4 separate regions of the Homo sapiens genome follow, and regions 2, 3 and 4 are each linked to region 1. Evidence: promoter capture Hi-C in 16 types of primary human blood cells and fetal thymus (Javierre and others, 2016). All regions are on one chromosome and are shown on one strand. The core of a region is centred on a gene start or on the middle of the fragment in contact, and the rest is flanking DNA. Distances in the headings are between cores, read along the strand shown.

Region 1 (5,277 bases), core at 1,938-4,437:
GGTGGCCACAGCAGCAGTCACACCCCCACCCCGTCCATCACAGCACAGGCCCCGCTTGAGTCCTCACACCTGTCCACTCCTGGCCGGTCACCCCTCACAGCCCTCTGTCATGGTGCCTGGAGCAGCCTCTACCAGCCTGTCCCAGGTGGTGAGCCCTGAGGCCAGAGCCCCTCTCCCACTCTGAGCAGGCCAGGACCCCGAGGGGCTTTCGGGCTTCCCTTCACACAGTGCCCGCCAAGCCACTGCTGGCCATACCAGCTGACCTTCCCAAACCCTGCTCCCGGGCTGCTAGCTGGGGAATTCCTGGTGTCCCAGCGCGCAGGGACATTCTGCATGGGTTCCTGGCAGCTCGCCACTCTGGGCCGGCCCAGAGCCCACTCTCACATACCCACAGCCCCAGGCTCTGTGCCCAAAAAGTGGCGACAGGGATACACCCAAAAAGTGGGCAGTGAGCCCTCTCTGGACCCCCGCAGGTCAGGCTGACAGCCATAGGGGAGGGCCTCTGACACCCCCAGCAATCCACCAGTGGGTATCAGAGGCCCTCCTCTATGGCTGTCAGCCCACCAGTGCCACTTCAGTCCCCTCCCTCCGCACATCACACCCTTGCTAGGTAAACACTCATCCTCCCCAGCAGGGAGTGGGCAGGGGAGGGCAGAGGAGCCGGGAGGCAGGCTGGAGTGGGTGGGAGTTACAGGAGGCAGATTGGAAGCTCCAACAGAAAAGCAGCCAGAGTGCCGGACCCAAGCAGATGGCCTCAGGAGAAAAAGGGGGAAGGGGAGGGAGGGTCCGTCAAGGGGCAGCAGGGAGGGGTGGGGGAGAATGCCTTGAGTCTCCTCCCCATCTGCTATCTGCTATGCCCCTGGCACCTACCCCCAGCAGCCCAGCGCCCCTCCCCTGGGGTGGGCCATGCAGAGAAGAGCATCCCTCCACCAGCCCCTCTCCTGAGGACAGTGGGGGGGCCAAACCCCCTGCCCCCATCCCTGCCTTGGCACAGCACCTTCACTTGACCTATTTGACAAATAGGGCTTCTGTGAAACCCACGGTTCTATTGCCAAAAACCAAAGGCCAACCAAAGCTGTCCCATCCTGCCCCTGGCATCATTCTACAGGTGGGGACCGGCGTGCTCAGGGGCTCCTGGCCACACTGTGTCCCAGTGCCCACTCGCTCTCCTCCCTGGCTGGCCCCTCCCACCGCTGGGGGCCACTGTGTGCGTGGCTCTCCCCACCGCAGCCACTGTCCAGCACAAATGCCATTTCTCCCTCCTCCTCCTCCTCCCCTGCCTGCAGTTGCTAAGTTACACCAAAAAACCCCTCTGCTCTGTGTGAACTGTTCCATTTCCACGATTTGCCAGGTGGAAGGGAGCCATCCGGCTGGCAGCTCGAAGATGCCTCCCAGAGAAAAACAAACTCACTGGCTGGCCTTCAGGCCAAGGCACACCTGGGATACCTGCTTGGTTCACAAACCCAGGGGCATGTGCAGGAGGACACAGCTTCTCTACTTCACTAGAGAGCCTGGGGGATCCACACAGCTCATGCCCTTCTCAGGAGCAGGGAGTGTGGGCCTGCTGCACCCGCCTCGCTGGGTCACTACCACCCACAGCCCTAAGGACACACACTGGCTGGAGGGGCAGAGAACCCACCCACGTGTCCCTGGCCATCCAGCCAAGGTCCTCCATGTCCCCCTGCTCCGGATCTCCCCTTCCTGGGCTGGGGTCCTGAGGTTCCAAAGCAAAGTGTCACTGGACATCAGGGTGGAAATGTCCTCAGAGGTCATCAAAACCGTGTCAGTCTACAGATGGGGAAACTGAGTCTCAGAAGCCTGCAGCCTGCCCGTGGTTCACGAATCAAGACCTGTAGCCTTTCGGCTGGAGGCCCCCTAGAGCCGCTTAGAGTCCAGGGCACCGAGGTGGACAGGCTGGGCTGGCAAGACTGCATCCGGAGGGGGCGGGAGAACCCTGGGGGGACAGAGGGAACCAAGGCCTCTGGGAGGCTCCCCTGCACCCAGCCTGACTCCTGTGTTTCAGGATCCTGCGGCCGACGGCCATCGGGGCCCTTCCTGCGCAGGACAGTGGGAGAAGAGTGGCAGTGGTGGGGAGGGTGAACCAGGGAGAAGCTCACTGCTCTGAGCAGGGAGGGAGGGAGCCCCGGCCACCACCAGGTCTCTGCCCCCAGGTGGCTCCCAAGAGGCAGGCAGCGGCCTCTCTGTAAATATCCACCAGGTCCAGCACCCAGAGGCAGCCAGAAATGCAGGGCACAGGAACCTGCCAGCGCGTCCCTCCACACACAGCAGGGGACTCCCGCCCCCACCTCTCACTCACCGACCCTCGGACCAGAACCAGCTGCACCTGCCCCGTTCCTGGGGCCGGCAAGGCCTGGGGCAAAGAGAGCGTGGTCCTTCAAATGACCCTTGCCCAGCAGGGAGAGGGAGACACCTGGCATGGCCCTGGACCTCTCCCCCAAATGCAGAGCTCAAGCCCCAATTCCTCGCCAAACAGCAAGGGCGTGAGATACCACGGCGGGGCCCAGAATGCAGAAGAGCAAATGGAAACTTCCAACTGCGCAGCCCTGAGCTCCTCCGATTCCCCAGCCCCCACCCCCACGCCAGGCCCCGGGCAGCGAACCTGCCCGCAGTGCCCACGCCCGCCCGCCGCGTGCGCTCCTGCCACGCCCGGCCCGGCCCGGCCCGGCCCGCCAGGTGCCCTGAAGGGGCGGAGGGTGCAGGGGGTCCTGGCGCCGTCCAGCCCGGGGCGGAGTTCTCAGCAACTCCGCGCGCCGGGATCCCGGCCGCCCTCCCCGCGCGCGTCCCCCGCCCCGCGCCCGGAGCCCGCGCCCCGGCCCCACGACGGCCGCGCCGGGAGGGACCCCGGGCCCGCGCACGCCGCGCCCTGCCCGCGCCGGCGACCGGAGGGCACGGCCCCAGGCGCGGGCGGGGGCCCCGAGGCACTGAGGGTCCGCGGCCGCTGCCTACCTCGGTCCGGGCCAGCGTCGCTCCCGCGCCGCCCTCGCGCCGCAGTCGGGCCCCGAGCAGCGCGCGGCCGGCGCCGGCGGCGGCTCATGCTCGGCGCCCGGGCCCGCGGCACCCGCCCACCCGCGGCCGCCCCCGCGCTGCGCCAGCTGCGGGCAGAGCAGCTCCCTCCGCAGCCGGCGCCGGGGAGCGCGAGCGAGCGAGCGAACGAGCGAGCGCGGAGCGAGCGCCGAGCGGGCACGGAGCGGGCGCGAGAGCGCGGGGAGCGGGGGAGCGGGCGGGCGCGGGACGCGGAGGGAGGAGGGTGCGGGGCAAAGGTGCAGGGGGAGGTAGGGCGCGGGACGGGGCTCGAGCAGAGGGCACTGGGACAGGGCGGGCGCCGGGAGAGGGCGGCCAGGCTTTCATTTAAAAAGGATAAGGCATCACGCCTGTAATCCCAGCACTTTGGGAGGCCGAGACGGGCGGATCACGAGGTCAGGAGATCGAGACCATCCCGGCTAACACGGTGAAACCCCATCTCTACTAAAAATACAAAAAAAAAAATTAGCCGGGCGTGGTGGCGGGCGCCTGTAGTCCCAGCTACTCGGGAGGCTGAGGGAGGAGAATGGTGTAAACTCGGGAGGTGGAGCTTGCAGTGAGCCGAGATCGCGCCACTGCACTCCAGCCTGGGTAACAGAGTGAGACTCCGTCTCAAAAAAAAAAAAAAAAAAAAAAAAAAAAGGATCAGGCAGCAGACAAGCTAGGAGGCGATGCGGCCACCGCATTTAAAAGGCCCTCTGGGGACTCCCGCAGAGCTGGCAAAATTTTTGTCAGTGGAATCAGACGGTGAAAGCCCTTCTGTGGGCAAGTCCTGGCCCCTTGGGTCACTCCCCTTAACCATCTTAATCGCCCTGTAAGGTCGGTGGTGGATTTGTTCCCATTGGACAGGTTAGTAAACTGATGCACAGGGAGTGCGGTTACCCTGCAGGGTCTCAGAGCCTATAAGTGGCAGAGCAAGGCTCCAAAGCCACCTTGAAAGATTTCAGAACCACTAAAGCAGGACACAGGTCTTCTGGCGTCCACTGGAACTTCCTGTCGCTCTGAAGGGTCACCTTCTCTTGAACGGACACCCTGTGGCCTGACCCCAGGGTGGCCCAGAGTGACTCTTGCAGGCAGTCAGACGAGGGCCAGTGAGAAACAGGTCTGGGGCGACGATGTCCCCAGGTGGAGGGGTCTGTGTGAAAAAATGGGGAGGAGCCCCACAGCACCCCTTGAAGAGGCTGAGGACCTTGCTTACTCACTTAGTCCTTGTGTCTTGAACACCTGTATGCCAGGTGTAAGATGGGGCACTGGGATTCGGCTGTGAATGTCTCTGTCTGGTTGGAGTTTGCATTCTTGTGGGAAGTAGGCAGTGAATAAAAATACACATAAATAGTTCATGTGTCAGATGCTGCAGATCCCACAGAGAGGCCCAGCAGGGAGAGGGAGCCAGCGAAGGGAGGGGGAGGGGAGCTTGTAGGGTGGGGGATTCTTTTTTATTTTTTAAGGGGAGGTGTCACTGTGTGGCCCAGGCTGGAGTGCAGTGGCTATTCACAGGTGCAATCACTATGCTCTACAGCCTGGAACTTCCTGACTCTAGTGAGCCTCCTGCCTCAGCCTCCTGAGTAGCTAGAACTGTAGTTTCTCACCACCACCCTTCCCTGCTGGGTTGGGGATTTTATTTTGGGTGATCAGGGAAATCTTGGCTGAAAGGATCATATCTGAGCTAAGACCTAACTGAGGCAAGCTATGCTGAATCCGAGGAATGAACATTTTCAGCAAAGAGAACAGTACATGCAAAGGCCCTGAGGTGGAGGATGCCTTAGAAGGAGGCCAAGTGGAGATGAGTGAGTGTGGTAGAGAGGAGCCTGCAGGAGCTGCCAGGTGGACCATATCGCGAAGAGCCTGGCCAGCCATCAGCCCTCTGTGGCTTTGACTCAGAGGGAGGTGGAGGGTTTTGCACAAAGTAATATGATCTTACTATTTTTTACAAACAATATTTTATTATGTAAGATTTTAAACGCTTATAATAGTAACGGCTAAAAAGGTATATACAATAAACTCAATGGCCCAACTTCAACAATTATCAATACATGGCCAATTCTGTTTCATCTGTATGCCCACCTACCACTCCCCATATTATTTATTTGTTTACTCATTTTAAGTAAACTTTTATAGCTTTTTTTTTTTTTTGAGACAGGGTCTCATTCTGTCCCCCAGGCTAGAGTGCAGTGGCACAATCATAGCTCATTGTAGCCTCGAACTCCTGGGCTCAAGCAATCCTCCCGCCTCAGC
Region 2 (5,277 bases), core at 1,365-3,864, 110 kb after region 1:
CCTTCTGGGAGTGAGGAATGGGCTGACTAGGGCATGACAGAGGCTCTCCAGGCTTCCCTTTGTGGGATTACTGGCTGTGCGTCAGAGACCCCTTCCTGGGGCCTGTTTCAGAGCTGGTGGGTGATTTCCCCTTGTCATCCTCTCCTAGTTGAGGGGCTGTGGGGAGAGGTAGGGGGGACCAGAGAAAGCAAAGTGTCATTTCCACTCAATTGGGGATTTACTGAGTGACAGACACCACTGTAAACACTTCACACATGTCAAATTTTCCTAGCAACCTATGTGATGCGGATGACATTAGGGTTAGGGTTAGGTTAGAGGAGAGGAGGCACCCAGAGGTTCTCATGGGCTAACGAATTCCACAGCCAGCCTCCAACCCTGGTGTCCTGCTCCTGAGCCCTGTTTCCAAAGGACTGGGGCCTGTTGCCTTCCCGATGTTTATCATTGTCAAAGACAGAGCCCAGGGACTGTGCTGCTGGGTGACTATACATCCTTCCTCACTTTTTTATTTTAAAAATCTTTTATTTTTCAGGGCTGGGTTCAGTGGCTCACGCCTGTAATCCCAGCACTTTGGGAGGCCGAGGTGGGAGGATCATTTTGAGGTCCAGAGTTCAGGAGCAGCCTGGCCAACATGGTGAAACCCTGTCACTACTAAAAATACAAAAATTGGCCGGGTGCAGTGGCTCATGCCTGTAATCCTAGCTACTCAGGAGGCTAAGGTGGGAGGATCACTTGAACCCAGGATGTGGAGGTTGCAGTGAGCCGAGATCGCACCACTGCACTCCAGCCTGGGTGACAGACCGAGACTCTGTCTCCAAAAAAAAAAAAAAAGAAAGAAAGAAAACAAACATCACAGAGACATTTACTCACAAAGTAAACCAACTTCTAACCTAGCACCCCAAAATAATCAAGTTTAAAAGTTTGCAAAAAAAAAAAAATTGTTCTCTAGTCTTTCAGATCATCTTTTCCCTCTTGTACCTGGGAGTTGGCCTTGTGAGTTTGGAATCAGAACTCAGGCTATTGCCAGGCACAGTGGCTCAAGCCTGTAATCCAAGCACTTTGGGAGGCTGAGGCGGGCAGATCACCTGAGGTCGGGACCAGCCTGACCAACATGGTGAAACCCCGTGTCTAGTAAAAATAGAAAATTAGCTGGGCGTGGTGGCACATGTCTGTAATCCCAGCTACTCAGGAGGCTGAGGCAGGAGAATTGCTTGAATCCGGGAGGCGGAGGTTGCAATGAGCTGAGATCGTGCCATTGCACTCCAGCCTGGCAACAGAGTGAGACTCGGTCTCAAAAAAAAAAAAAAAAAGGTATTGTTTCAGAACCCAAAGGTGAGGACTAGAGAAAGGACTTATTATTCTGATTTAAAATAATACTTTTTTTTTTTTTTTTTTTTGAGACAAAGTCTGGCTCTGTCGCCCAGGCTGGGGTGCAGTGATGCAATCTCATCTCACTGCAACCTCTGCTTCAGCCTCCCAAGTAGCTGGAACTACAGGCACATGCCACCACACCCGGCTATATTTTTTGTAGAGATGAAGTCTCGTCATGTTGCCCAGGCTAGTCTCAAACTCCTGAGCTTAAGCCTCCCAAAGTGCTAGGAATACAGGCGTGAGCCATGGCACCCAGCTCTCTTTTTTTAATTTCTGTATTTTTTTTATTTTCTTCTTTTTTTTCTTAAAACTGGGTCTCACTCTCTCACCCAGGCTGGAGTGCAGTAGCATGATTACAGCTCATGGCAGCCTCAACCTCCCAGGCTAAAGCAATCTTCCCACTTCAGCCTCCAGATTAGGTAGGACCACAGGCGCGTGTCACTATGCCCAGCAAATTTTTTCTTTTGAGATGGAGTTTCGCTCTTGTTGCCCAGGCTGGAGTGCAATGGCATGATCTCGGCTCACCACAACCTCTGCCCCCTGGGTTCAAGTGATTCTCCTACCTCAGCCTCCTGATTAGCTGGGATTACAGGCATGTGCCACCATGCCTGGCTAATTTTGTTTTTTTTTTTTAGTAGAGACGGGGTTTTTCCATGTTGGTCAGGCTGGTCTCGAACTCCCAGCCTCAGGTGATCCACCCACCTCAGCCTCCCAAAGTGCTGGGATTACAGGCAAGAGCCACTGCACCTGGCCCAGCTAATTTTTTTTATGTAGAGATGGGCTCTCACTGTGTTGCCTAGGCTGGTCTGGAACTCCTGCGTTCAAGCAATCCTCCCACCTCAGCCTCCCAAAATGCTGGGACTACAGGCGTGAGCCACAGCACCTGGCCTGCATCTTTTTTCTCAACTAAAACAAAACAAACTAAAACAAAACTAAAACAACTAAAACAAAACAAACTAAAACAAAACAAACTAAAACAACTAAAACAAAACAAACTAAAACAAAACAAAACAAAAAAACCTTACATTTAAGATAATTGTAGATTCACATGCAATTGTAAAAAATAATGGGGAGAGATAAGCCAGTTTCCCCCAGTGGCAACTTCTTGCATAGCTATAGTACACTATATCACAGCAGAATATTGAAACTGCTAGAAGCATTGGCCTTACTGAGATTTCACCAGTGTTACATCACTCATTTGTGTGTGTATGTACGTTTAGTTCTGTGCAACTTTATCACCTGTGATGCCTGTGACCACCACAGTCAAGATCTGGACCAGTTCATTACCAGGATCCCTCATGCTCCTCTTTTATAGCCAAACCCATTTCCCTCCCTACTTAGGCCCCCTAGGCCTAACCTCTGGCAACCACTAAACTGTCCTCTATCTCTATAGTTTTGTTATTTCGAGAATGTTAGGACCGGGCACGGTGGCTCACACCTGTAATCCCAAAACTTTGGGAAGCCGAGGCAGGTGGATCATCTAAGGTTAGGGGTTCGAGACCAGCCTGACCAACATGGTGAAACCCTGTCTCTACTAAAAATACAAAATTAGCCAGGTGTGATGGCAGGCGCCTATAATCCCAGCTACTCGGGAGGCTGAAGCAGATGAATCACTTAAACCCAAGAGGAAGAGGTGCACTGCATTCCAACCTGGGCAATAGAGTGAGACTCCGTCTCAAAAAAAAGAAAAAAAAAGTGTTAGGCTGGGTGTGGTGGTGCATGCCTGTAGTCCCAGCTACTTAGGATGAGGCAGTTGGATCACTTGAGAGTTTGAGGCTGCAGTGAGCCGTGATCGCGATCATGCCACTGCACTCGAGCCTGGGTGACAGAGCAAGGCCCAGTCTCAAAAAAAAAAAAAAAAAAAAAAAGAGAGAGCTATCATCTCACCACTGCTCTTTAGCTCTTTAGCATGGGCAACAGAGTAAGATTCCTTTTTTTTTTTTTTTTTTTTTTAGAGACGGAGTCTCGCTCTGTCACCAGGCTGGAGTGCAGTGGCATGATCTCGGCTCACTGCACCCTCCGCCTCCTGGGTTCAAGAATTCTCCTGCCTCAGCCTCCTGAGTAGCTAGGACTACAGGCGTGTGCCCCCACGCCCAGCTAATTTTTGTAATTTTAGTAGAGATGGGATTTCACCATGTTGGCCAGGATGGTCTGGAACTCCTGACCTCAGGTGATCCGCCCGCCTCGTCCTCCCAAAGTGCTGAGATTATAGGTGTGAACCACCGCGCCCAGCCCAATTCTTTTAAAAAAACAAAAACTGATAATAAAACTGAGATGCCTTGAGACTTGATGCATCTGTCAGCACCCAAATCATGAGGGTGGTCTTAGTGCAGGTGACTTATCTCCCATACTGCTAAGTACTTGGGGGCAGCTTCTTGAAAGGTAACTAGGCTGGGCATGGTGGCTCATGCCTGTAATCTCAGCACTTTGGGAGGCTGAGGTGGGCAGATAGCCTGAGGTCAGGAGTTTGAGACCAGCCTGGCCAACATGGTGAAACCCTGTCTCTACTAAAAATATGAAAATTAGCCAGGTGTGGTGGTGGGTGCCTGTAATCCCAGCTACTTGGGAGGCGGAGACAGAAGAATCGCTTGAACCTGGGAGACGGAGATTACGGTGAGCTGAGATCGCGCCACTGCACTCCAGCCTGGGCAACAGAACGAGACTCCGTCTCAAAAAAAAAAAAAGAAAGAAAAAGAAAAGAAAGGTAACTAGCCCTCTCCTGCAGAAAACGTGGCCTTGATTCAGAACACTCAGAGTTTCAGGGTTTGGCCTGAGTGTTTACTGAGACTTATCAGAGGTGCCACATGAAATCATTTAGGAACACAGGTACCTCTTTGATGGGGCCTATGCTGTCATTTGTAGCAGATGGCAGAGGAGCTGGTGGAGTCCTTGCATCCTTCTGGTCACCTGATAATTAGCAGGAGTAGTATTTCCTTTTTTTTTTTGAGACAGGGTCTCACTGTCATCCAGGCTGAGGTGCAGTGGTGCAATCTTGGCTCACTGCAACCTCCGCCACCTGGGCTCAAGCGATCCTCCCACCTCAGCCTCCCAAGTAGCTGGCCTACAGGTGTGAGCCACCATGCCCGAGTAATTTTTGTATTTTTTGTAGAGTCGAGTGTCTTGCCATGTTGCCCAAGCTGCTCAAACTCCTCAGCTTGGCCGGGCACACTGGCTCACACCTGTAATCCCAGCACTTTGGGAGGCCGAGGTGGGTGGATCACCTGAGGTCCAGAGTTCAAGACCACCCTGGCCAACATGGTAAAACCCCATCTCTACTAAAAATACAAAAATTATCTGGGCGTGGTGACACCCACCTGTAATCCCAGCTACTCAGGAAGCTGAGGCAGAATCGCTTGAACTGGGGAGGTGGAGGTTGCAATGAGCCGAGATCGCACCACCGCACTCTAGCCTGGGTGAGTGAGACTCCGTCTTTAAAAAAAAACAAAAAAAAACAACTCCTCAGCTCAAGCAGTCCACCTGCCTCAGCCTCCCAAAGTGCTGGCATTACAGGTGTGAGCCACTGCGCCAGGCCTCAGGGTATTTTCAAGGGTCAAAGCAGCTTTCTCCAAAATCCAAAAACTACTACCCAAAATTATGCCTCTTTCAACACCCGGCATTTTTAGTGACTCAAGGGATGAAAATTCTTATCAGGCCCTTACTTGCTTACACATTAACCACTCGCTTTTTGCCCAGTATTCCTTGTTCCCATAATGAAATTATGAACTGCTGAAATACTGTTCCTTGTGAAGGAGGGGATAACTTCAGGGCCATAAAAAAATTTTGCAGAAGTAATGAATGTCTTTAAACACACTGCGACCAGCTGCAGACACCCAGAAGTCTGGTTATTCAAGACACTATGTGAGACTAAAGAAACACAGACTTTTCCCCCCTCGGTTCTCTGAAACTGCC
Region 3 (5,277 bases), core at 851-3,350, 95 kb after region 1:
CTCAAAAATAGAAGACTTCCAAGAATAAAAATATATTACTTAGGTTAAGTTCGGTGGGTGACAGAGGAAGGAAATAGACTCAACTCAGGCCAAAAAAAAAAAAAAGGAGGCGGCAATATGGAGTAACTAATATTAAACAAGAGTTAAGTAAATCTTCAAATGGAGATTTGGAATAAAAATAGTATGGTGCAACAAGAGCGAAACTCCATCTCAAAAAAAAATGGTATGTATGGTGTTCAGATTCCACTAGATATATTACAACTCATGTAGCCATTTTACTTTAAAATATAAATATTAAAACATACCAGAAATTGTATCTTTTGCAACTATTTGAGCTTATGATGAGAAACTTTAGCAACATAAAACTGTGGAATGGATATGTGGTTTTTCAGAAATGAGAGCAAACATTCAAAGACTACTCTATTACATAAATACGGGAATAGAAGAGTGGCCCAGAAACGAAATAGCAGGAGCTTCTAGGGTTCAGCAAGAGAGGGCTGAGGGAGACTGCCCAAGAAGGGATTGAAGCGGGGCCTAGAATGCCAAAGCTTGTACTGCACTTTACGTGTGTCACAGGAGGACAGAAAGGGGTGAGTCACAGAGCTGTTTAGGAGGCAGAATGGACAAGAATTGTTTGATTGGTTATGGGGATTTGGAGGCAAATAAAGTCTAGGATGATGCTCAGGCCTTCGGCTTTACCACTTGGATGGAGCACAGAGAGTAGGCGGGGTGGTTTAAAGAAGAAACCAAGTATTTATTTCAGGAAATGTCAAGTTTCAGCAAACTATGAGACATGCATGTGGAGACAGGAGGCAGGCAGTGGGCCTGGTGGTCTCCAGCTAAGGAGAGAGGTCAGAGAGGTGAGTTTCCAGGAGGGAGCAGCCAAATCTCAGAGCCTGCTGAGGGGGTTAAGACCTAATTATCCATCCAAAAGTGTATCCATCCACCCAAATATTACTCAGTTATTTTATTTATTTTTGAGACAGAGTCTCGCTCTGTCGCCAGGCTGGAGTGCAGTGGCGCGATCTCAGCTAACTGCAACCTCCGCCTCCCGGGTTCAAGCAGTTCTCCTGCCTCAGCCTCCCGAGGAGCTGGGATTACAGGTGCGCCACCACGCCCAGCTAGTTTTTGTATTTTTAGTAGAGACGGGGTTTCACCATGTTGGCCAGGATGGTCTCGGTCTCTTGACCTCATGATCCACCAGCCTCAGCCTCCCAAAGTGCTGGGATTACAGGCGTGAGCCACCGCGCCCGGCCAATTTATTTATTTTTATTGAGACGGGGTCTTGTCATTTTGCCCAGGCTGGTCTCGAAGTCCTGGGTTCAAGGGATCCACCTGCCTAGGCCTCCCAGTGCTGGGATTACAGGCGTGAGCCATGGCGCCCTTTCTACTCAAGTGATTTATCAATCATTTTACTCAATAGTTAATTCACACATCCATCCAGTTCCCACAATGAATTCCATCCATGTGCCAAGGTCTCTGGGACAGGAAGCTGAGTGACCTGAAATCACAGCCCTGGGAGAAAAGGGAGGTGAGTGGTCAAGACAGATACACCCATACCTGTGATGTGGGGTTTGGGAAAGGTGGGCCTCCCAGAGGGGAGGCAGGTGAACAGGAAAGGTGGCTTCCCAGGTGAGGCAATTGTTGAATTGGACAGAGTGGAAATGGCTCACAGTGGTCCTTGGGAGAGGATGAGAATTAGGATGGAGAGAAAAGATTGAATACGTGAGATATGGAAGAACTAGAAGGATGGGCTCTCACTGGGGGGGCGGGGGGGACAGGGAACCGAGTTGCCTAACTTCCCTTTGGTGGAGTCAGACTGTATGCTGAGCGCTGTGACTTTGGACCACTGTCCATGTCCTTGAGGGGGTCATATCCTGAGGAGCTGGCACACATTTCAGCAGATATCTCCATATGACTGGGTTTAGTGGTGGCCTGTGGGACCACGTGGGAAAGAGACCCACCTGAGATGGGAAATTCTGAAAGGTCAGAGATGGTGGGGGAACGGAAAAGTTTAACAGTTGTTGACTGTGAAGTGCCTGCAGGAAATGAAAGGGAGGTGCCCAAGAGCTAAGAAGTCTGGTATAGGAGAAGCATGAGTAGGAGCTGCAACAGGGGGCTAAGAGGTGACCTGTGCAGTAGAAGGAAAGCACTCGCGTTCTCCCAGGTGCGGAACGAGCAAACGTTGATGACAAATGACTTTGCCTACCATCTTGAACCCTTTCGGCTTCTCTTCTTGCACAGGTCTTCATTCTCACCCTGCTACACAGCCCCTACCAGAACGTTCTGAAATGCAAACCTAACAACTGTCTCACCCCAGCAGGAAACTCCCCAGGGTCCCGGGCCCCCTGCGGGGTTGCAGGCCTCACTCTTCGCGCCCATCCCTCCGCCCTGACCGCCCTGAGCTCGCCCCCAGTGCTGGCCCTTCACGTCCAGTTATCCCTCCCAGCCTCCAAGGTCCCCGTTACCGAAGACCGCCACCATCACGACATAGCGCAGCACATATGGGTAAACAAATGGACTGAGACTCAAGCAAAGAAGTAACCCGAGACGCGCGTTACACGGAAAACGACTGCGCAAGCGCGGTAGAGCAGGGGCTTGCAGGTGAGTGGGAGCAGCCAATCCACGCGAAGGGGGTCGGGACCACTTCCGCGGAGGAAAGCCCCGCCCACACCTCCTGGGCCCTCGCCTCACTGGCGGTTTCTCCCGCGAGCCAGCCTCATAGACATTCCTTGGTGCTGATTGGCTGGCGGCCAGCGCAGTCCTCCTTCCTCTGGCTCTCTCGCGGCCCCTTGCGGGAAGGCCTCCCAGAGGCCGTGGGGTCGTTTCTGGCGGCCTAAGTGGGCCTAACTTTTAGAGTCCCGAGGGTCGTCGCTGCCGGGGAGATCTCCGCCCCATTTCCGTGCCGCCTTGTCCTCAGGGCCCAAAGCCCCCTGCGCTAAGGGCCCTGTCCCATCTCTGCCCTACACGCGGGAGTCAGCCTAAGGCGGAGCCCTAGGACAGCAGCCGCGCCTGACGCTGCTCGCCTGCCTAGCACAGGCAGGGGGTGAGCGGAGTCGGCTGCCTCCCTCCCCAGGGCCCTCCAAGGGAGTGGGCTCCACATCCATGGGCCCGAGGAATCTGCGGAGAGACGGGAAGAGCAGGGGACACTCACAGGGCGGGGGTCCAGGCGGGAGTCCAGTAGTCCTCGTGGAGACAGCTGGGAAAGGCCTCGGGGCAAGGGACCTCGGATTTCCTCCTCTGCCTCAAAACAGACAGTCTAAGCTGGGTGCGGTAGCTTGCGCCTGTAATCCCAGCACTTTGGGAGGACGAGTTGGGTGGACCACCAAGTCAAGAGATGGAGAACCATCCTGGCCAACATGGTGAAACCCCATCTCTACTAAAAATTAGCCGGGCGTGGTGGCGCGCGCCTGTAGCCCCTGCTACTTGGGAGGCTGAGGCAGGAGAATCGCTTGAACCTGGGAGGCAGAAGTTGCAGTGAGCCGAGATTGCGCCTCTGCACTCCAGCCTGACAACAACAGAGCAAGACTCCGTCTCAAAAAAAAAAAAAAAAAAAATGACCACGCACAGGCAGCAAGGGGCAGGGGGTGGTCCACGCTCAGCCTTCAGTACACATTTGTGGAATTAATCCCTCCCAGGACAGGTTGTGAAGAAAGCTTGTTAACCTCAAGATTCAGAAGCACCGTTCACAGCACAAGCTTTGGAGTCAAATTCAGGCTGTTAACTTGCTGCGTGCGCCCCCGACTTACCTCTTTCTGCCTGTTTGCTCATCCGTAAAATGGGAACTGTGACTGAGTCTACTTTGAATCTGATTATGCTGCATGAACTCAGAAGACAGGGCTCAGTTGAGTGACTGCTCAGTTTACAAGAGCTGTTACTGTAGTTGGGAAGCGCCCTGAGACATACATGGTAAGATTGGTAACCTAGGATAAAGGGGGCCACCATGAGAGAGACCCCAGAGGGAAACTGTTCCAGAGAAGAGAAATGTCTTGCTAAGGTCACACTGCCCTGGTAGCGAGCACAGGGCAGCCTGCTCCGCCCAAGTTTCCAGCCTTCTCAGCTGAGTTCTGGCCCATCAGGCTAAGCCGGAGACTAAGCCTCAAGAAAGCAGGCATTCGTAGGAAAGGGGTCCTGTAAGTCCCAAAAGCCACCTTTGCTTTGGAAGGTCTCCAAAAGGAACCTCAGATGCACTTCTCCAGAAGGCCCTAGCATTTTTGCCTGCCCCCATCCCCACCCCGCAACAACTTCTGCCCTCTTCAGGGATCCACCATTCCTATTCCTATTGCTGTGAGGTATTATAACCTTTAACAGGTGGAAAGAAAACTTCACCTCAGCCAGGTGGTATTGATACCCATCCAAGGCAGGGGACAAGTTGAGGCTTGGACAGATCCAGAGATTGGGAATCCAGGTCTTTGAGTGTACCTTCTGCAAGCACAATGGTACATCACCTCATCCACGGTGTGTACCATGCCTTAGCACTGTGTGCCCTCTGAGAGGCCCCCAATTTCTGGCCACACACTCAATCTGCAGCAACACCTTTTACACTGGAAGTGATGCAAAGTCAGTCCCTGGGTTAATGAACATATCTTCTTAGGTATTAAACCCAGTATTTATAAATAAATGACCACAGAATGGTGTAGAAAACTTTAAAAGTTTTGGATATTAAGTGTTGGCTGGGCCAGGCGCGGTGGCTTACGCCAGCACTTTGGGATGCCAAGGCGGGCGGATCACTTGAGGTCAGGAGTTCAAGACCAGCCTGGCCAACATGATGAAACCCTGTTGTCTCTACTAAAAATACAAAAATTAGTCAGGCATGCTGGCACGTGCCTGTAATCCCAGCTACTTGGGAGACTGAGGCAGGAGAATTGCTTGAACCCGGGAGGCAGAGGTTGCAGTGAGCCGAGATCGCACCCATTGCACTCCAGCCTGGGCAAAGAAGAGAAACTCTGTCTCAAAAAAAAAAAAAGTGTTGGCTGGGGGTGTTGACTCACACCTGTAATCCCAACACTTTAGGAGGCCAAGGTGAGAGAATCACTTGAGCCTGGAAGGTGGAGGCTGCAATGAGCCGTGATTGTGCCACTGCACAACAGCTTGGGTGACAGAGTGAAACCCTGTCTCAAAAAAAAAAGTGTTTTTTCATCCATTAGGAGTGTTTGGATGAACTCTCTCATGGTGTGATTCCTGAGGGTTGGACTGGCAATGAAGGCTGTGTTCAGGAAGTTTCTTGCCCTGCTTCCTGGACATGCGTTTCTTACCAAAACTCCTGGAGCGATGCAT
Region 4 (5,277 bases), core at 1,994-4,493, 68 kb after region 1:
CTGGCCACAAATGTCCACAGCAGCATTATTCACAATTGCCAAAAACTGGAAAAAACACAAATGCTCTTCAATGGGTGAATGGTTAAAGAAACTTTGATACCCCCATACCATGTAATACTACTCAGCAATAAAAAGGAACCGACAATTGATATATTCAACAACTTGGATGGATCTCAAGCAAATTACGCTCAGTGAAAAAGAGCCAGTTCAAAAGGCCATATACTGTGTGATTCCATTTATATAACATTTTTGAAATGACAAAATAGACAGATGAAAATCAGATTAGCAGTTGCCAGGGTTTAGGGGCAGAGGAGGAGGGGGCGGACATAGGTAAAGGGTTAGCATGAAGGACTTCTGTGGTGATAATTATTCTGTATCTTGATTGTGGTGCTGGTTACACGAACCTACACATGTGATAAAATTGCATTGAACTATTCACACGCATACATACAACACACACAAGTGAGTGCATGTGACACTGATGAAGTACAAACAAGCTCTGAGGACTGTATCAACATCAGCGTCCTGGCTTTGATATTAAACCATAGTTAGAGAAGATGTTATCATTGGGGGAAACTGGGTGAAACGTACACGAAACTTCCTCGAACTTTTTTTTTTTTTTGCAACTTCCTGTGGGTTTATAATCATTTCGAAATTTATCCTCTTTTTTTTTTTGAGACAGAGTCTCACTCTGTCACCCAGGTTGGAGTGCAATAGCCTGATCTCGGCTTACTGCAACCTCTCCCTCCCAGGTTCAAGCAATTCTTCTGTCTCAGCATCCCATGTAGCTGGGATTACAGGCACGCACCACCACACCCGGCTAATTTTTGTATTTTTAGTAGAGATGGGGTTTCAACATGTTGGCCAGGCCGGTCTTGAACTCCTGACCTCAAGTGATCCGCCAGCCTTGGCCTACCAAAGTGCTGGGATTACAGGCATGAGCCACTGCACCTGGCCCAAATTTTAAAATTCTTAACATATATTATTTTTAAAATGCTTCTCCACCCACTCCTCTCCACCGCTGTACTTCTGTTGCTATCTCAGGCAGTGGTCCATGAAGGCCAGCACCACAAATAAAGCTACAACTGCTCAGTGTTTATGTAACACCCAGATAAAACCACCCCCACCCTTCTCCATGTCATCTCAATGTAGTGACATAGCCAAAAGTAACGCAGGTCCAAAACCCTGAGCAGTCATGGAGAGCTTTGCTTCAAGTTTTCTTGGGAGGACTGTGGAGAGTAGGCTCCCATCTCATGATGCAAAGCAAAACTTCCTGATGTCGTCCTTCCCACCCCCGACCAAAGCTGCGCTTTAAAGCAGATCCTCCAGTATCTCCTCCCCTCTCCCCATCTGCTTCTCTCCCCCTAAGCTTCCAGCCTTCTCTTCCTCTCCCCTCCCATCCCCTCCAACAGGACTGCTGGATTTCCGGCAAAAACTCCCAGGTCTGTTCTAACATGGATCAGCCTGGGCTCTTCCCATCTCTGCCCACTCCCACAGCAAAGGCCCCATAAGGAGCAGCCAAACACTCGCACCTCCTCATGACACAAAGGAAAGGGAAGGCTGTGAACAGCCACTTGCGCTGTAGCATTTTTGTTTCTGTTTTTTTTTTAAAAAAAAATGGGTAGGCCGGGCACGGTGGCTCACGCCTGTAATCCCAGCACTTTGGGATGCCAAGGCAGGCAGATCACAAGGTCAGGAGTTCGAGACCAGCCTGACCAACATGGTGAAACCCCATCTCTACTAAAAATACAAAAATTAACCGGGTGTGGTGGCACGCAACTGTGATCCCAGCTACTTGGGAAGCTGAGGCAGGAGAATTGCTTGAACCCGGGAGGCAGAGGTTGCAGTGAGCTGAGATTGCGACGATGCACTCCAGCCTGGGTGACAAAGCAAGACTCTGTCTCAAAAATAAATAAATAAATAAATAAAATGGATAAAAGATTTGGAGAATCACCTCAGCAAAGAAGATAAGCTGATGGCAAATAAGCACAGGAAAAGATGCTCAACATCATTAGTCATTAGGGAAACACTCATTGAAACCATGAAGAGACACCGCGACACACCCACTAGGATGGCTACAACCAAAGAGACTCACCATGGCAAGTGGTAGTGAGGGTGTGAAGAAACTGGGACATTCATGCACTGCTGGTGGGAATGTGAAATGGCACAACCATTTCGGAAGACAGTTTGGCAGGTTCTTATGAAGTTAAGCATACAGCCAGGGATGGTGGCTCACACCTAATACTTTGGGCTTTGGGAGGTGGAGGAGGGTGGATGGCTTGAGCCCAGCCCAGGAGTTAGAGACTAGCCTGGGTAACATGGCGAGACCCTGTTTTGCCATGTCACCCAGGCTCTGTCAACCAGGCTGGAGTGCAGTGGCACAATCTCCACTCACTGCAACTTCCACCTCCCAGGTTCAAGCGATTCTCCTGTCTCAGCCTCCCAAGTAACTAGGATTACAGGTACGTGCCACCACAATGTGCTAATTTTTGTATTTTAGTAGAGATGGGGTTTCACCATGTTGGCAGGCTAGTCTTGAACTCTTGACCTCAGGTGATCCACCCACCTCAGCCTCCCAAAGTGCTGGGATTACAGGCGTGAGCCACGCGCCTGGCCTGCAAGACCCTGTTTCCAAAAATAAAAAAGTTAAACCTGCCATATGACTCAGTCACTTCACTCGTAGGGATTTACCCAGGTTTCATGAAAACATAGTCCACACAAGACCTGCACAGTAATATGTATAGACACTTTATTGGTAATAGTTAGAAACTGGAAACAACCCAAGTGTCCATCAACAGAAGAATGCAGCCAGGCACAGTGGCTCATCCCTGTAGTCCCAGCACTTTGGGAGGCTGAGGTGGGCGGATCATGAGGTCAGGAGTTCAAGACCAGTCTGGCCAACATGGTGAAACTCCACCTCTACTAAAAATACAAAAATTAGCGGCACATGGTGGCATGTGCCTGTAATCCCAGCTACTCGGGAGGCTGAGGCAGGAGTATCGATTAAACCCGGGAGGCGGAGGTTGCAGTGAGCTGAGATAGAGCCACTGGGCAACAGAGCAAGACTCCATCTCGGGGGCAAAAAAAAAAAAAAAAGAAGAATGCATAAATTATGGCACATCCATGCTATGGAATACTGTTTAGCAATTTTAAAAGAATGAACTGCACTCCAACCTGGGTGACAGAGCAAGACCCTGTCTAAAAAAGAAAAAAAGAAAAAATAATAATAAACTATTGATATTCACATCACTACAGATAAATCTCAAAATAATTATGCTAATGGAAAGAAGCCAGACAAAAGAGTACACATTGTATGATTCCATCTATATAAAATTCTAGAAATCGCAAATGAATCAAACAGAAAGCAGATCAGTGCTTGCCTGTGGCATTGCCTTGCCTCTCCAAGGGGTCCTTGGGGGAGGGAGAAAAGGATCACAGAAGGGCATAAGGAAAGTTTTCAGTGATGGATGTAGTCATTTTTTTGATTGTGGTGATTATTTCACCGGGTATATATATATATATATTCTTCCAATTTTGGCCGAGTGCGGTGGCTGTCACCTATAATCCCAGCACTTTGGTAGCCTGAGGCAAGAGGACTCCTTGAGCCCAGGAATTCAAGACCAGGCGTGGTGTAGCCGGGCGTGGTGGTGCACACCTGTAGTCCCAGCTACTCAGGAGGCTGAGGTGGGAGCATTTCTTGCGCCCAGGAGGTGGAGGTTGCAGTACGCTACGATCATGCCACTGCACTCTAGCGTGGGTGACAGAGCTCACTTGAATCTGGGAGGCAGAGTTTGTGGTGAGCCAAGATTGTGCCATTGCACTCCAGCCTGGGCAACAAGTATGAAACTCCGTCTAAAAAAAAAAGAAAAGAAAAAAAAGAAATCAATGTGGCTGCTCTCAAAACACCAGATACGTCTATTGAATCATGCATAGAACCTGGGAAAGGGACCTCTGGGTGGATTCCTGAATGCAGTGGACCTACAGTGAGTTGGGCCTGGGTCAAAACTCTATTGCCTAACTCTCATATAGCCCCAACACTACCAGGGGACCACAATAAGGCTTTGGGTCCCTGGGTATCAATGCCAAGATGGATTCTGTGTCTAGCAGCACTTGAAATGTTTAAATTCCTCTTTACCTAGTATGTGGCAACTCTAGTAAATAGCCATAAGTGCCACTGGGGAAGAACTGAGGAATCATGACCACTCACTCACTGCCGTGAAGGAGTTGTTCCTCCTGGAAACCCAGCCTCTCCTTCAGGCACTGGGGTCTGGTCTGAAGTTTTTCACTGGGGTAGCTGCCCTCAGCCTCCATCTCCCATCTTGGATTTCTTTTGGTTGTGTAGATTAAGCAATGACTTTGTGGGCTGTTCTCCTCCTTGGCCACAGGAATAACCTGCTCAATTCGCCACCTCCACAGCTCTGGGAAGGTCGGATGTCCCTGGCTGCCACAGCAATGTTGGCACCTCTGCTTAGAGAGGGCCATGCTTTCTCCAAGCCTCCAGGGGCTACACAGGCAGCATGTTGGCCCCACCTCCTGGGCTCTTTCTAGGATGTTATATCCTGTATCTTAGAAGAGTGTTCTCACAGCAGCCTGGGCAACATAGTGAGACCCCCATCTCTACAAAAAATAGAAAAAGTTAGCCCGTGATGCTGGCACATGCCTGTAGCCCCAGCAACTCAGGAGGCTGAGGTGGAAGGACTGCTTTGAAGTCAAGGCTGCAGTGAGCCATGATCGCACCACTGCACTCCAGCCTGGGCAACAGAGCAAGACCCTGTCTCAAATAAATAAGTAAATAAATAAATAAAAATAAACTCTACTTTATCCAACTTTATGTTCTACCCCCTCCCTACCTTGTCCCAGGACCCTCAGGCCTGCCACACACACGTGCACACGCACAACTCTCTCTGACTCGCTCTTCCTAGTCACCTTGGCCAAGTCCTGCAGCTTCTTTAGAATTTGGTCCCTGCCCTTTCTTACTAAGCCCAATGCCTCCCCAGCCAAGTGTAGTCTCAAGTTCGGGTGTGACCAGGAGCAGGTGGCTGGCCCTGAGGGTGGCCATTGCCTTGCAAGTCAGTGGCGGCTGGGCACCTGGGTGCTTCCCTTCAGACGAACCCATTCCAAGCTTCAGGGAGCCTCTGTCCCCACAGAGGGAGCTAAACTGACCAGGACTGAGAGTTCATAATTTTCTCTAATTATGCCCTGGGCTCAATTCTCAGCATTTTTAGCCCTCCAGTAGCAGGAAATAGTCTCTTTAGCTGCAGCCTCAAGGCCCCGTGA

What was found. The method cuts DNA at HindIII sites, captures the fragments that hold promoters and counts their contacts. A CHiCAGO score of 5 or more calls a contact.
Region 2: a fragment that was not itself captured here is called in contact with the fragment with the promoter of RASGEF1A in region 1 in 1 of 17 cell types (neutrophils); the score reaches 5.9 in neutrophils.
Region 3: a contact is called between a fragment that was not itself captured here and the fragment with the promoter of RASGEF1A in region 1, in 1 of 17 cell types (neutrophils). The highest score is 8.1, in neutrophils.
Region 4: a contact is called between a fragment that was not itself captured here and the fragment with the promoter of RASGEF1A in region 1, in 1 of 17 cell types (neutrophils). The highest score is 6.7, in neutrophils.

Annotation. Positions count from the first base shown.
Region 1 is chr10:43,263,878-43,269,154 of GRCh38, forward strand. RASGEF1A (RasGEF domain family member 1A) reads right to left here and starts at 3,188. Exons shown (of 13, transcript NM_145313.4): 1 at 2,968-3,188. RefSeq lists an enhancer at 1,818-2,693. The HindIII fragment of the contact is 10,296 bases long and covers 1-5,277 here.
Region 2 is chr10:43,378,369-43,383,645 of GRCh38, forward strand. No RefSeq gene overlaps it. Among named protein-coding and RNA genes, the nearest start is that of FXYD4, 9.4 kb to the left of the region's middle. RefSeq lists a silencer at 2,433-2,482. The HindIII fragment of the contact is 9,118 bases long and covers 1-5,277 here.
Region 3 is chr10:43,359,699-43,364,975 of GRCh38, forward strand. No RefSeq gene overlaps it. Among named protein-coding and RNA genes, the nearest start is that of FXYD4, 9.3 kb to the right of the region's middle. RefSeq lists enhancers at 1,892-2,804, 2,402-2,491. The HindIII fragment of the contact is 3,108 bases long and covers 547-3,654 here.
Region 4 is chr10:43,331,779-43,337,055 of GRCh38, forward strand. All of the region lies in intron 2 of LOC105378271 (a long non-coding RNA gene), which reads left to right. LOC124902414 (a long non-coding RNA gene) reads right to left here and starts at 4,630. Exons shown (of 2, transcript XR_007062130.1): 1 at 4,208-4,630; 2 at 2,736-3,852. The HindIII fragment of the contact is 3,753 bases long and covers 1,368-5,120 here.